Linked DNA regions of Homo sapiens: regions 2 and 3 are each linked to region 1. Evidence: promoter capture Hi-C in 16 types of primary human blood cells and fetal thymus (Javierre and others, 2016). All regions are on one chromosome and are shown on one strand. Each heading gives the region's core, a stretch centred on a gene start or on the middle of the fragment in contact. The rest is flanking DNA. Distances are from core to core; before and after follow the strand shown. Region 1 holds the start of FAR2-AS1 (FAR2 antisense RNA 1). Region 2 has its middle 160 kb from the start of FAR2. Region 3 holds the start of LOC101928735 (a long non-coding RNA gene).

The links. The method cuts DNA at HindIII sites, captures the fragments that hold promoters and counts their contacts. A CHiCAGO score of 5 or more calls a contact.
Region 2: a contact is called between a fragment that was not itself captured here and the fragment with the promoter of FAR2-AS1 in region 1, in 1 of 17 cell types (megakaryocytes). The highest score is 5.6, in megakaryocytes.
Region 3: a fragment that was not itself captured here is called in contact with the fragment with the promoter of FAR2-AS1 in region 1 in 1 of 17 cell types (monocytes); the score reaches 6.5 in monocytes.

What each region holds. Positions count from the first base shown.
Region 1 is chr12:29,314,937-29,319,724 of GRCh38, reverse strand. FAR2-AS1 (FAR2 antisense RNA 1) reads left to right here and starts at 1,877. Exons shown (of 7, transcript NR_103860.1): 1 at 1,877-2,017. It overlaps FAR2 (fatty acyl-CoA reductase 2), which reads right to left. Exons shown (of 12, transcript NM_001271783.2): 9 at 2,713-2,884. The HindIII fragment of the contact is 3,353 bases long and covers 127-3,479 here.
Region 2 is chr12:28,989,904-28,994,691 of GRCh38, reverse strand. No RefSeq gene overlaps it. Among named protein-coding and RNA genes, the nearest start is that of FAR2, 160 kb to the left of the region's middle. The HindIII fragment of the contact is 1,383 bases long and covers 1,622-3,004 here.
Region 3 is chr12:29,040,588-29,045,375 of GRCh38, reverse strand. It overlaps LOC101928735 (a long non-coding RNA gene), which reads right to left and starts at 4,760. Exons shown (of 5, transcript XR_242930.3): 1 at 4,484-4,760; 2 at 3,742-3,923; 3 at 3,368-3,508; 4 at 3,078-3,133. RefSeq lists an enhancer at 2,785-3,984. The HindIII fragment of the contact is 2,430 bases long and covers 843-3,272 here.

The DNA of each region.
Region 1 (4,788 bases), core at 628-3,127:
TGAAGTAATTTAGGGCTCTAATGGCTAAATTGGTGAAGCCAGGATTTAAATCCTATAAGCCTGACTCCAAACTCCATGTTCCTAAGCCCTGCATTATATGTATCTTCACTCATATTACAAAAAGCTTTATAGTCAAAGCTAAAAAGAAACAGACCTGGAGAAAATATATGAAATATGTATTCACACACACATGTTCCCATACATTAATAAGGACAACCCAATAGGAAAATAGGGAGCAGAAGCAGGCAGCACACAGAGGGGAAAACTTAAATGTCCAATAAATGAATGAAAGTCCAGCCCCTCCAGCAATCATGAATGCAAATCAAAAAAACAAAAAGATGTCATTCCTTATGAGTTTGACAATTCAGAAGTTGATTTTTACAAAGTATTCTTACCCCCATTAAGAGGGTAAGACATACTGTTTTGTACCCCTTGGCCGGGCGCGGTGGCTCATGCCTGTAATCCCAGCACTTTGGGAGGCCGAGGCGGGTGACTTGCTTGAGGTCAGGAGTTCGAGACCAGCCTGGTCAAGATCGTGAAACCCCATCTCTGCTAAAAATACAAAAATTAGCCAGGCACAGTGGCGGGCGCCTGTAATCCCAGCTACTCGAGAGGCTGAGGCAGGAGAATCGCTTGAACCCAGGAGGCAGAGGTTGCAGTGCGCTGAGATCTCGCCACTGCACTCTAGCCTAGGTGACAAAGCAAGACTCCATCTCAAAAAAAAAAGAAAAAAGAAAAAGAAAAAAAAAAGACTTTTGTACCCTTCATACACTGTTGTGGTAGTGCCAATTGACAGTCTCTTCCTTAGGGAGGGTCACCTGGCACTAGTCACAAACTCCACATACTCTTCAATCCAGCAGTCTCCCTCCTCAGCATCCTCTCCTGACACAGGCACATTCTACAAAGAGGCATGCACACTGATATTCATTGCCCTATTTGCAGTAGAAAAAAAAGACAACACCGGGCAGAATGACTTAGATTTTCATGGAAAATTAGTGGAAAAAGTTGTAAAATATGTACAATTGATTTATATACACACATACCCCCCTACTGCAAAGCAAACTATGTACGTCCATATATGGATGTAAAAGCATAGGAGAGTATACACAAGCACACCTGGAGCAGGAAAGGGTCTAGAAGGATTTCAGCTTTTTCTGCCATAAAGATTATTGCTAAAATACATACCACACAACAAACCAACCCATTTCCCACAAATATTACTGTTTGACTTCTCACAAGATACATATAGATTTTTATTGTGTCTCTTCCTTCTGTGTTTCTCTTTTTTCCTAACTGAACTTTGTTCTTTATGCAGGCCCTCTTCCAATCCTGATATATTTTAAAACCTTTAGCATTTCTGCCTACAATATTTGGGTTTTCTTCTTTTCCTGTCTTTATTTAATAAGCCCCATACAAATATTTTCCCCATAATCACAATGTTTCCTTTTCACCTTGCTCAAGAACTGAGTTATGAGCTCCAAATGAGGTCTTTAAAAATTTAGATAAACTCTACATTGGCTAAGTTTTAGTCATTTGCACTGCTAATAAAGATGACAAACACGCTGAAGAAGACTTCCTCCCTTATAAAGGGGCTAGCACAGAAGGCAATACTGTTCATACTTCTGATTCTTGATCACGAGAATTGCCTTAGGCAATTATAACAATGACTCCTCTGACACATAATATTATTCAAGCGAGACAGATAAAGGCGTATGTCCTGTGTCACACAGCTAGGTGGTGACAGCTGCCTTAGCATCAGCACACTGTGTTCCCTCTAATTTCTTCACTCATCTCTAGGTGGCAGTAAATCTGGTTCCGAATACTGACTTTGAGACTCGGCTTTCTCCACATCCTTCCTGTCACTTCCTTTGAGACTAATTCAGATTCTTTCCTTAGCTTCTATTTCCCCATTTGTAAAATTGGGATGATGAGGACATCTTCCTTGGGTAGCTGTGACAATGAAAATGGGATCATCATGCATCAGCCTTAGCCCCACGAGTGCCACAGTAAACTCTCAGTAAGTGAGGTTGTCATCATTATTGTATATTTAAGATTATCTACCTATTCAGAAAACCCTAGTGACAGAGTCTCAATTGCTTTTCTTTTCGCATGAATGATTACTTGCTGAATTCATCAACCTCTTTAACATTTACCTTCCTTTATTGTGCTGGAACATTTTTAATGTCTTTTGTGGCTTCTCACTATGACTGCTTTGTTCAAAACTTATACAGGTCGAGTATCCTTTATGTGAAATACTTGGGCCAGAAGTGTTTTGGGTTTTGATTGTTTTCAGATTTTGGAATATTTGCATATATGTAATGAGCTATCTTGGGGATGGGACCCATGTCTAAACACAAAATTCATTTCTGTTTCATACACACTTAGCCATATACACAGAGCCTGAAGGTAATCTTACATAATATTTTAAATAATTTTATGTATGAAACAGTTTTGAATGTCTTTTGACTGTGACCCATCACATGAGGTAAGGTATGTGGAATTTTCCACTTGTGGCATCATGTCAGCACTCAAAACGTTTTGGATTTTGGAGAATTTCAGATTTTGGATTTTCAGATTAGGTGTGTTCAATCTGTATATATGGGTAAGATTCAGTTGTCTCCTTTAATCCTCGGCTGAAGGAAGCACTAAAGATTTTGGGGCCTTAATCTCCCATGCAGTGACACTCTCAAAGCCATTGACTCAGCTTCTCACCTGGGCTTCCTTCCAGTGAGCCGCAGATAGCAGTCATAGATAATGGCAGGGGCCCGGTGGCTGACCGCATTCCAGTACTGTGATGTGAAGCTGTTGCTGGTAAAATTAGCATTTGGCCTCCTGAAAGGTCTCTCAAATGGGATTTTTTCAAAGGTTGCCAAGACTTGGACTCCTGGGGAAAAAAGAAAGTAAGTGCTAGAGGAGAAAAGGAGAATATAAGTCCATCATAGTGGAAAGCATTTGTAATGGGTCAAAACAATAAAGACGAAGGATTTGCTGTGTAGAGTCAAGAATCAATTTCTGAGAACAATATAAAGATTTTTGTGCTGGGCAAATGGTTATCTGCAAACTGAAACAGTGTGAATGGGTTAATAATTGGATTCTTTAGTTGAAGCATTTACTGTAAAACAAACTATTGGGGAAACACTTGTCAATACAAGGAGGTACTGTTCAGAAAAACATGAATCTGCCTTTAATTCTAAGGTCATCCAGTCTATTCTGAAAGCCCCAAGACAGAGGCGAGAGACCTTATTTCCCTGGCTGGACCATTACTTTCAGAACCATTTAGAAAGTTTCTTAACATTTTATTTGAATCTTTATTAAAGGTTTAAGTAAAAGATTGTAAAGATTCTCAAGGCAAGATTTCTTTGTGTTAGTCTACTTCAAATACTTCTCTGGGAATATGTTAGACTCAATTGTCCACTCTGGTATCCAGAGTTTTATTCATAATAGTATTTTTCTTTTTATATTATTACTTAGATTAAGCTTAAGAACTTTTTATGTACATTTGTGAATTCAGTAGTTGTTTCCAAAAGATATTCATTTGAATTCAATTTTATTTAATGTATGTAGGTTTTTTTTCAAAGCATATGCCTAAGCTCATTATTCAATTATGATGATATCACTTATTATGGTAATATGATTATTGCCCTCCTTAAAAAAATACCAGCTAAAATCTGTCTGAAAATATAAATCCTATACAAAGAAGAGTCTCAAGAATCACCTGGTTCATAGGCATTTATTGAAACATTTGTGGCATTATTAAAACATTTGGTTCTGATAGCGTAAGAGATTCTGATCTCAACACTGACATTCTGATGTATATATCCATATACCTGTTCAACATTTCCATCTGGATGTGTAATAGACATTCACATTTAACAGCTCTAAAATTGGCCTCCTGATACTCCCACTACCAACCACCCCCTTCCCAATGCATACACAAACTTGCTTCTTCACTAATCTTCTACCTCTAACCAAATGGTAATTCAGTTTTTTTAGTAGTTCAGCCAAAAACTTTGGGGTCATCCTTGATTCTTCTCTTTAACAACCCACACACAATTCAACAAAATCTATCAGCCTTCTGTTTGAAAAATACCCAGAATCATAATTTCCACCTTCTGTGTCTCTGATCCAAACCACTACTGTAGCCTGGAGTGTTGCAGTACTGTCCTAAATGGTCTCTGCCACTACCCTTGTACTCCTACAGTCTGACCTCCATGTGGCAGCCGGAGTGATTCTTGTAAAATGTAACTCAGAATATATTACAGATACTTCTCCATTCAGAGCCCTTCAGTGGAATCTCATCTCATTTGGAGGCAAAGCCATGGTCTGGAAGGCTTTGCACACTCTGCATCCTCACTCTCTCTGCCCACCACTCTGACTTTATCTCCTACCATCCTCCCCCTCAGTGCTTCTGCTGCAGCCATACTGGCCTCCTTGCTGTCCTTGAATATGATTAAAGAGCTGTAGCACTTATTGTTTCTTCAACTTGGAATATCTCCTCCACATGTCCCTCTGATTTGCCCCCTCACTTCTTTCAGGTCTCTGCTAAGATGACACCTTATCAGGGAGACTTTCCTTGGCCATCACATATAAAATAGCAGCCTTCCCACATCACTATTTACTTCTTTAGTCTGTTTTATTTTTTTGCAGTCTCTCAACCATATCTGATGTATATTTCTCCTTTTTAAGATTTAAGTACCATAACAAAATTTTGTCTGTTTTGTTTCAACCTATATAGTACCTTGAAAGTGGCTGGCAGGTAATCAGTGCCCAATAAATATTTTTTGAGTA
Region 2 (4,788 bases), core at 1,064-3,563, 330 kb after region 1:
TCAAAAAGTCAGGACTTAGAGTACTGGGGAGCCTATAATTTACTTAGTACCTGAAACAGTCAAATCTACCCCAAGGCATGGATGAAACTCAGATCTTCCTGCACAGGTTTTGATGGTCCCACCAAAGCACTTAAGGTTTTCTTTTATGTGCAGCATAATCATTATAATTCCCTCACTGAGTGCATTTTATATCTCTCGTAATGTAAGATAGAAGAGGGTGTGCTCACAGCTTGAATGTGGAGCCTAACGCTTGATTCTGTTTATAGGCCTTCTGCTTGCAAAACATGAAATGGTTTGCCAAGTTTAGAACCCCCTGGAAATCTCTGGATTTGGAACTCCTGATAGAATTCCAAATTTTTTTTTAAGGTTTGGGTTCTTTTAACTTTCGGCACAAATGTGACTTCCTGTTTCTAAGAAAAAAAAAAAAAAAAAAGCTTGAAAAAGTTCCATGAAAAGAACTCTTAAAGAGCCCTGGACATCCAGTGGTTTCATAAAACAATGTTTTGGTGAATTAAGTGTAAATGTGTCAGAAACATATGGGTTAAATTTCCCTTGAAAAAGGAGACAGAAAAGCAGACCAAACATACTTTAGGGTTTTGCCGAACCCAGCGCCATTTGAAACATACTTTGAGGTGTTTGGGTAAGTCCAAACTGACAGTGCTGCCTCCCTCCCCACACTGTGAATTTGCCATCCACAAATTCACAAGTAGGCAGATACCCATTTTTCAAACGGTTGTGGTGTTTGTACAGACAAGGAAGCACAAAGATCAGGGTGCAGCGCCACAGCCTGGAAACAAAGCAGGAGTCATCCAGACCCTGGACAGAGCACAGGCCTCACCTCCCTGCTCAAGTATTTCAGCTCTGAGCAGTGCACCAGGGAATAGCTGGCTGTACTTTTCAGGGCCCGATTACAAAGTACAGTTCCTGATATATGATATTGCAATAGAATGGTTTCAGATTCAACCTGAACCAACTGAAGCCTCTACTCCAGATATTAATTGGATCAATGACTAAGAATGGAAACGTTCCCCCAACTGCATGTTCCTCTCCTTTCCTCTTCAATCGAGTTCCTGCTTTTATCTCTTCTGGTGGCTGAGACCAGAAGCAAGAAGTCTCAAAAATAACCTCCAGGAAACATGTTCTCACGAGATTTCCAGCTCCATTCATGAAAGGCAGAAGTTTGAATACAGTTCACAGAAGCACCAAGATTTTGAGGGATTTGGGGGGAACAATAACCTTTCTTGGGTATCATCCACTTGCTGAGGTTGACTTAGGGGGCCTGCAGATTATGCTGCAGAGAACAATTGCCTTGGAGAGAGAATAAGAGGCCCAAAGCAGTGCGGCCACCTAGCAATTCAATTCTTCCAGTAATCAAAGAATCCCCAGAGAGAATAAAGACACTTCTCTTTTTCCATCCTGTTAGTTTTCTTAGATGACAATGTAGGTCTTGTCCCTTCACTTCTCAAAGATTCATTTTTCCAGCTGTATAGTAAGCTCCGACCACCTTCTTACGCTTTGGCCACCTTCTTATGAATAAATAGGGAAATGAAAGACTGAGAATGCTTCTGATTTATGTCAAGAGGATTGATTTTGTTCAGGCCCTCCTAGCCACACACAAGCTTCCTTCAACTCTTTTTAAGTGTTTTTGGCGATTTCCAGTAGTGGGAATGAATGTTTATTGGTGGCCACATCCAAAAGATGGAAAAGCTGAAAACCGAAGGTTCTCAGAACTTCCGAGGTCAAAACAGATTAGAACTAGTTTTAAAGAAGTGTATTTTAGTTGAAAGAACATTTGGCTTAGCGTCAAAAGAGTTGGGCAGAAGGCTTGGCATTTTTTGCCCCATAATTAAGTCAGATATACTGTTAGTTCCTCAGTTTCTCCATATTCCAGAAAGGGTGAATGCATATATTACCAGAATAACTGCTGGGGGGATAATTAAAATTCTTCAAACTCCTTGAGGGCAAGAATGTCAAATTTAAAAAAAAGTAAAGTAGATTACACAAAGCCTAGAATTATGGTGAAAGCAAGGATAGTATTGAGTATGTTAGGAAAATTGTTCATTTTTACCACCTGGTAGACTACATCTAATAATAGTGATTATTTATATGGTGCTTGCTATATGTTAAGTATTTTAAGGTGTTTTGTGCATATTAACTCAATCTTCATGACAACACTAATAAGTAGTTTTTTAAAAATTATTCTGATGGGGAAACCAAGGCACAGATAAGTCATTTGCCCAATTTGCCAACATAGTTTTGGTGAAGGCAGGCTTTGAACCAAGGCAGTAAACTCTGGAAGCCGTATTTCTAACCTTCATATGGTTAAGAACTTTTATCTTCAGGCGAGATGATCCCAATCCTACTTCTGAGTTAGTTCTCTGATCTTGAAAATATCCTCATGAATTTTTCTTCCTCTCATGTATTTTACAAGCAAATCATTATGTTGAAATAAAGTAGAACATACTCAAATCATTTCTTTGTAATTTGCCATCTCAATAGGCACAACCAGCAGAGACTTCTTCAAACAAACAAGCCTTGTCTTCATGTGGAAAAACTACTGTGTAGGTTGATGTAAAAGCCTATTTTCTTTTAAAAACAAACGTTCAAAAGAGGAAAATGGTCTGTCACCTTTCATTAAAAGTAGATCTGTTAAGTATCTGGAAAAGCAAGGAAAGTGTATAGACACTTATTTAAGTTGGTGTAAAAATCAATTCTGAGGAAAATCTCAAGGTAAGCTCAGAGTCTCGGAGGGAAAAAGGAGAGACAGCATGTCTAGTTTCATCAGAGAATCTTGGTGCCCACTGGATGGGTGAATTGTAAAGAGGAGGCCTTCTTTTATGATAGGGGTTGTATCAAAAAGCTAATTGTCTCACTATCAAAGGCCCAGCAGAAACAGGAGGGAGCATTTAAGATATTTGAAGTGCTGTGAGTGTACAATGAATGGTTTGCACGTAGGTATTGCTTTAAAGTAGAAGAAAGTGGTCTGCCAAATTGTGCTTAAGCTTCAAAATGCTGCTGAAGTCCTATATCCCTGTAAGGCTATTTTGACTTTAAGGAAAGGCTTGTGGTAAGTTTTGTTTCTATGGATATAAAGCAATTAGATTAAACAGCAATTGAAAACTATTTAGTGAAAAAGATACCAAAAGGTATTTCTTTTTCATTTTACACTAAATTGTGCATTGTTGTTTCAATTAGCAACTAGAGAACATTGTGTATTTATGGTTATGCTTATTTTTAATAAAAAGTTTATTTTATTTTTAGAAAAACAGCACTGATTGGACCGGATACCATAATGTGAGACCCAGTTATACTGCCTGAGGAAAACCTTCCTGGGTGATTTTTACAGTTGTGTGTAAAATACCATAATTCTGCTGGAGGCACCCATTTGAGTTTCAGATAGAATTTCTAAGATGCCTTAAAAACAACAAAGTGCAGTGTGTTGATTATTGTCCTACTTTACAACTTTTTAAAGGAAGAGTTGGTCTGCTTGACATAGGCTGAAAACAGGGATCGGAAATGCACTTCAGCATTCACCTTTCTCTTCCCAATTATATGCCTTCCTTCTCTCCCATTAGATTTTGCTCCCTCTGCTCCTTTTAGGAATGGCTAGAGGACAGTGCTTCAACAACTCACCCAGGCCTCATGCTAAAATGCAGATTGTGAGCCTATAAGTCTAAGGTGGAGCTCAAGATTCTACATTTCTAACAAGTTTCCAATTGAGGTCCATGCTTCTGGTCCAGAGATGATCACACTATGAATAAATAGCAAGTAGAGTCTGATCAACCTCTGTGTGTGTGTGCGTGTGTGCGTGTGTGTGTGGTTAGTGATGTACTACTTGCCTAATTTTTCCTTTTTTCTTAAATATTCAAATGTAAAAGCTCAAATTAAATAACAAAACAAAAGAAAAAACTCATTTCTCACTTTTAATCCATAAACATCCACTTGATTAAGTCAGTCAATCCAAGCAGCTATAAAGAAGAGGATCTGAAGGGAATTAGAGTTCAATTCTCATTGCCATTGATCAATGGGTAATTGTGCTTTCACCTCTATTTAATAAATCGTGCTAAGAAAGTAACAGATCTAGCAGAGATACCAAGGGCATTTGCAGCACAGAACCGGGATGCTTTGCTGATATTTTTCTTCGGATCCCATCATTAATTGTGTTAGCTTTCACTTTCTCAGATCTTCCAAACATATCTCTCAGTAAATTAGGCATTGGGATAGATGACCATCTTTGTAATCAGAGGCTATCATGTCCTGACTCTATTCTCACATAAGAGTTATATTGCCTTAGTGCTACCCAATAACCCAATAAGCAATGAGTTCACTCTCATCCAATTATGTGAGGACTTTTTATGCCAAGCAAATTCAGGGATTCAGGTAAAGGATGAGTTATACTTTTCTGTGGGGGGGATGGTGAGGGGAAATAGTCTCACTCTGACACCCAGGCTAGAGTGCAGTGGTGCCATCTCGGCTCACTGCAACCTCTGCTTACCAGGTTCAAGCAATTCTCGTGTCTCAGCCTCCCCAGTAACTGGGATTACAAGAGTGTGCCACCACGCCCAGCTCATTTTTTTTTTTTTTTTTTGTATATTTAGTAGCGACAGGGTTTTGCCATGTTGTCCAGGCTGATCTGGAATCCCTGATCTCAGGCAATCTGCCTACCTTGGCCTCCCAAAGTGCTGGGATTACAGGCGTGAGCCACCGTGCCTGGCTGTGGTTCAGCTTCTCTTAATTTGTTCAAAGATGACCTGAGAATACGTCTACTCAATTTTTCTATCGTCACCT
Region 3 (4,788 bases), core at 808-3,307, 270 kb after region 1:
TCAGCAAGGTCATTATTCGTGTATAAAAATACCACTGATTTTTGTGTATTGATTCTGTATCTTAAAAATTTCCTAAATCCATTTATGAGTTCTAACTTTTTTTGTGTGTTGTGGAATGATTAGGGTTTTCTACATATAGACTTATGTCACCTGCAAATTAGAGACAATTTTACTTTTTTCTTTCTAGTTTGAATGCCTTTTATTTCCTTGATTGTCTGATTGCTCTTGCTGGTACTTACAGCAGTATGTTGAATAGAAGTGACAAGAGTGGACATCCTTGTCTTGTACTGGATTTTAGTGGACTTTCTGTTTTCCCTCATTAATTATAATGTTAGCTGTAAGATATCAATAAACTCTATCTGTCCCTTTTATCAGTGAAGCATATGTTTTCCAGAAGGTCCCCCAGCAGACCTCTGCTTCAGTCTCTGTGGCCAGAAGTATGTGACATAGTCATCTGTATTTGCAAGGGAGGCTAGATAAAAAGTGTAGGCACTCCGGCTTCTATGGAAGAAACAAACAGAGAGATGAGTTCATAATGGATGTTGCCTAAATAACCAGCATCGAATGCTCTAGTACCCCTCACCACATGCTTAGAACTACTTCTTTAGTGGAATTTTTCACGTTCTGCAGCATTAGAAGTTTTACTCCCAGGATCTGTATAGCTGTGGAAGAAAAATAAATTCTACCTGAAAGTTCAAGGGCTCAGATAACATTTAGATGGAGCTTTAATTCTACAGGTGGTAACTGATTTTAGAAACTTGCAGAAGATAGTTAATACTGTCCCCAATTTTTCTTTATGCACCGATTTATGCTTGAAATTCTAGTTTTACCCTTAAAAAGCTTTTTATTCTCTTAAAAATTTTGATTTTATTTTATTTTTTCTTTTTCAACTTTCATTTTAGGGTCAGTGGATACATGTGCAGGTACGTGTGTCTTATGGGTGTCTATTTTTCCCATGATAAGTCTTTTATTCTAATTAAAATACATAGAACATCTCTGAGGTAACAGTTGAAGATGTTAACCAGAATTTTACAATTTCCTATAAAGTAAGGAGCTGCAAGTAAATTTTTAAAGAAAGCATTACCACACTGAAGGGAGTACAATATGAGAATCAAAGACTAATTTCATCCCCTTCACAAGTTTGTCTGGAATGAATCCTTTTATGTAATTCATCATGCTGGTTTATACAGTATGTATTCCTGTGATAGTCAGAGGTTTAATTGGACTCTTTGCTTCCTTTATCCAGAGAGTAGACACCAGCTAATATTTGTCCCTAGTTTTTTCCTGTTACTCTCCTATAGAAACCAAAGTAGTCACCTTGCTGGTTTCAAAATGTACTGTGCACTTTCCTGCTTCTTGACTGCTCAGTGAACGTCCCACCAGCAATGCCTTCCCTGTCCACTGAAATCTTGCTCGTGGTCCAGTGCCATTTTCAAATACTCCCTTCTTTGTTCATTCCTCTCAGAGTATTTCATCAGAATTTCTCTTTGAGACACTGATCATATGCTGACTATTGTGGCAATTATTGTATTACATCCCATAATGTCCTTTATTTTTGAGAGTGATAATTAGCCATCTCTGTAGTGCCAGACAAGGCAACTATCACACTATAGGCACTTAATTTTTACTCTATTTGTAGAATAATTTTCTGTAATAAATGAATAAATAGAGTCATACTGTGGCTTCAGTGATCATTGGCCTGAACAGATTGAAAATCTCCTAAATCTCCACTGGGACTAGCACCAAATATCCTGTGCATGTTTTTTTTTTAATGAAGAGCTCACTTTTGACACTGTGTTTTAGTTGTTCCTGTTGTTATATTTTAGAGACATAATTGAAAATAATAAATGAAGGACAATAATCACTAGAATATATAAGAAACAAGATTTCTTAGCATTTTGCACAAAAATGTATGATGACCAGTAATTTATTTAGATAACTTTTCAGAGAACTAAGTTGCTCATCTTGGTTACTTGCAATGACTAGATTGTTTGTCTTATTGTAGCAACCATTCCATCTGGTGATAGTCAGTAGTTAAACTGAATTCTCCTTTATTTGTCGAAAGAGTACATGACTTAATAAAACTGCAGGATTATGAATAACATGTCATGTTTTGGGGGAGGGTAGGTCATTTGATCCAGGAAAGAAGATTCATAGTTAAAATTGCCTGCCTTTCACTGAAAATTAACTCAAAACAGACCTATAGTAAGCAGTAGAGCAACTGTGTTGAAAGATGAGAGATGATTATTGACTGGAGAAAAAAATTGTTTATTTTATGGGTAGCACAAAAACATGTTACTCCTGAGTCTTGCTGATGTCTAAAGATGTTGCCAGTACACTAAATAGAGACGAAACTGATCAAATCATTATAAACAAACGATCACTGGGAGAATATATATTTTAAAACATTAGTATAAATAAATAGTAATTTCCCATTTTCTTTCCCTTAGGAGTGTGTCTATTATGATACTTCAAAAATTTCAAGAACTTAAAGTATAATAAAAAAAATTTCAAGTGACAAACTTTTCTTCCTTTTTTTTTTTTTTTTTTTTTGAGACTGTGTCTCATTCTGTCACCCAGGCTGGAGTGCAGTAGTGGCCAGATCTTGGCTCACTGCAACCTCTGCCTTAAGTGATCCTCCCATCTCAGCCTCCTGAGTAGTTAGGACTACAGACACATGCTACCATGCCCAGCTAATTTTTTGCATTTTTGGTAGAGACAGGGTTTCACCATGTTGCGCAGGCTGTTCTCGAACTCCTGAGCTCAAGCCATCCATTCATCTAGGCCTCCCAGAGTGCTGGGATTACAGGCAGGAGTCACAGTGACCAACCCAGACTTTGCATTTTCAAAACATTGATTGTTTTTTATTGTGTCTCTGATGAAGTGATTTCTCACCCACAGAATCTGGGAATTCTATGATTTTCAGGAGCAGAAACAGTCCTAAGCTAGGAATAAAACGATTGCAAAAAATTCACTAAAGTTCAGAATTGTTTCTGAATTAAAGAGATGGCAGGTATAACTAAAGGAAAGGAGAATTTCGATCCAATAATTTCAAAGACATGGGGCTGCTGACTTACCCCTTTCTGTCATTGTAGGTGCTCATGAGACTATGTGGGGGTTTCCAAGAAGAAACCTGGAAAAGGCAAAGTAAGGAAACACATTTCAGATCTCTATAAGAATGCAAAATGACACTGAATGCTGCCTGCCCCACAGCCCTCCACACATGGTAACCTTCTAATTACAGAATTTCCATCCAATCTCCTTTGAAAGCTTACGAATAGTCTTTTCCTTTCTTCCTCTTTTTCAGGCTTTGTTTCCCCTTAGATCTGTGATGCTGTCCTTATTTCATGAAATCAGGATTCCTTACCTTCCGGAGACTCAGTTACTGATTTAGAGAATTATTTTTCTTTTGTGAAGATGTCAACAAATTGTTCAAGACCGCGTTCTTGAAACAGCCTGTCTTTGGTCTTTTGAAGGTCAAAGTCCATGGACATTAAATTTTATTACTCTAGAAAGAACCACAAGACATTAGTCACTGCTAGTTGCATTCTTATGCTATGAAAGACTTTTATTACTCCTGTTTCTATATATAGAACAGTTCCTCCGTTTTCCCACTGTTTTTAGAACAAACTTTTATGCCCCTATACTGTCACCCATTCTGCAGCAGAAACTCTGCTAAGCTCAGCAGACACTTCAGAAGTGCTTGGTTCTGAGACATCTGAGGCATTGTTTGAACTTTACCTCTGATTTGTGGTCATGGCAAGGGCAAGATGTTTAAGTTCTTCAATCTCGGATGCATATAAGTCTGGGAATCCATCAGCAAGGGCCTTGGGCTCAGTCTTCTGTAAGTGATCATTCTTGTGAACAATCTCTTTCCACTTCATCATGGTGCTCTTGGATGGCCCTCAACAGGAAGATCAAGACTGCAGTGAAAAGAAAATACACCACCTTACTCATATAAACTGAAAACTCACTGATAATGTTTGTGCATTTTTTACACTTGACTTTATAATATGATAATTTTTAATGTCCTTAGATAATTTTAAAATATGAGTTATGAGTTGAATAGTATGTAATGTGTTAACATATAAGTGTATAAGTATATACATATGTATATGAGTAACATGTGCATGTTAACATATGAGTGTATAACAGTTTATGTTAACTATGTAACAATTTACTTAATTTTTGAACAGATTTGTTAAATATATAAATTTTTTATTTTTAAAACATTGAATTGTACTAAGGATCTTATTCTTAATGATTTTTGTTTGTTTGTTGATTTAGTTTGATTTTTTGTTGTTGTTGTTGTTGTTTTGAGACAGGGTCTTGCTCTGTCACCCAGGCTATGTTTTGCAGGAGAGCAAACCTGACTCACTGCAGACTCAACTCCTGGGCTCAAGTGATCCTCCTGCCTCAGCCTCCAATATATCCGAGACCACAGGTGCATGCTGCCACACCTGGTTAATTTTTAAAATTTTACCTTGGGTTTGAACATCAGAATGCTAACAGAAGTTTCTTAACTTTCCCTTTATCTCCTCTCATATTTATGCTGAGGCTCTTAGGGAGTAGAACTGAAAACAAAATAGAGGCAAGGCCTTCTGGTTTTTCGAAGCAGCAGTTTATCAGTTCCAGGGAACAAAGCAGGAGAAAGATGACTTGGCATGAACTCTCAGGGCTGGCTCCCTTGGTGTTGGTAAAGGTGAGTCCCTCCAGGTAGTAGCATCAGTTACTTGGGCATTTATGTCTCCATGGAGACCGGGGAGAGAATAATAGGGCACTCCTCAT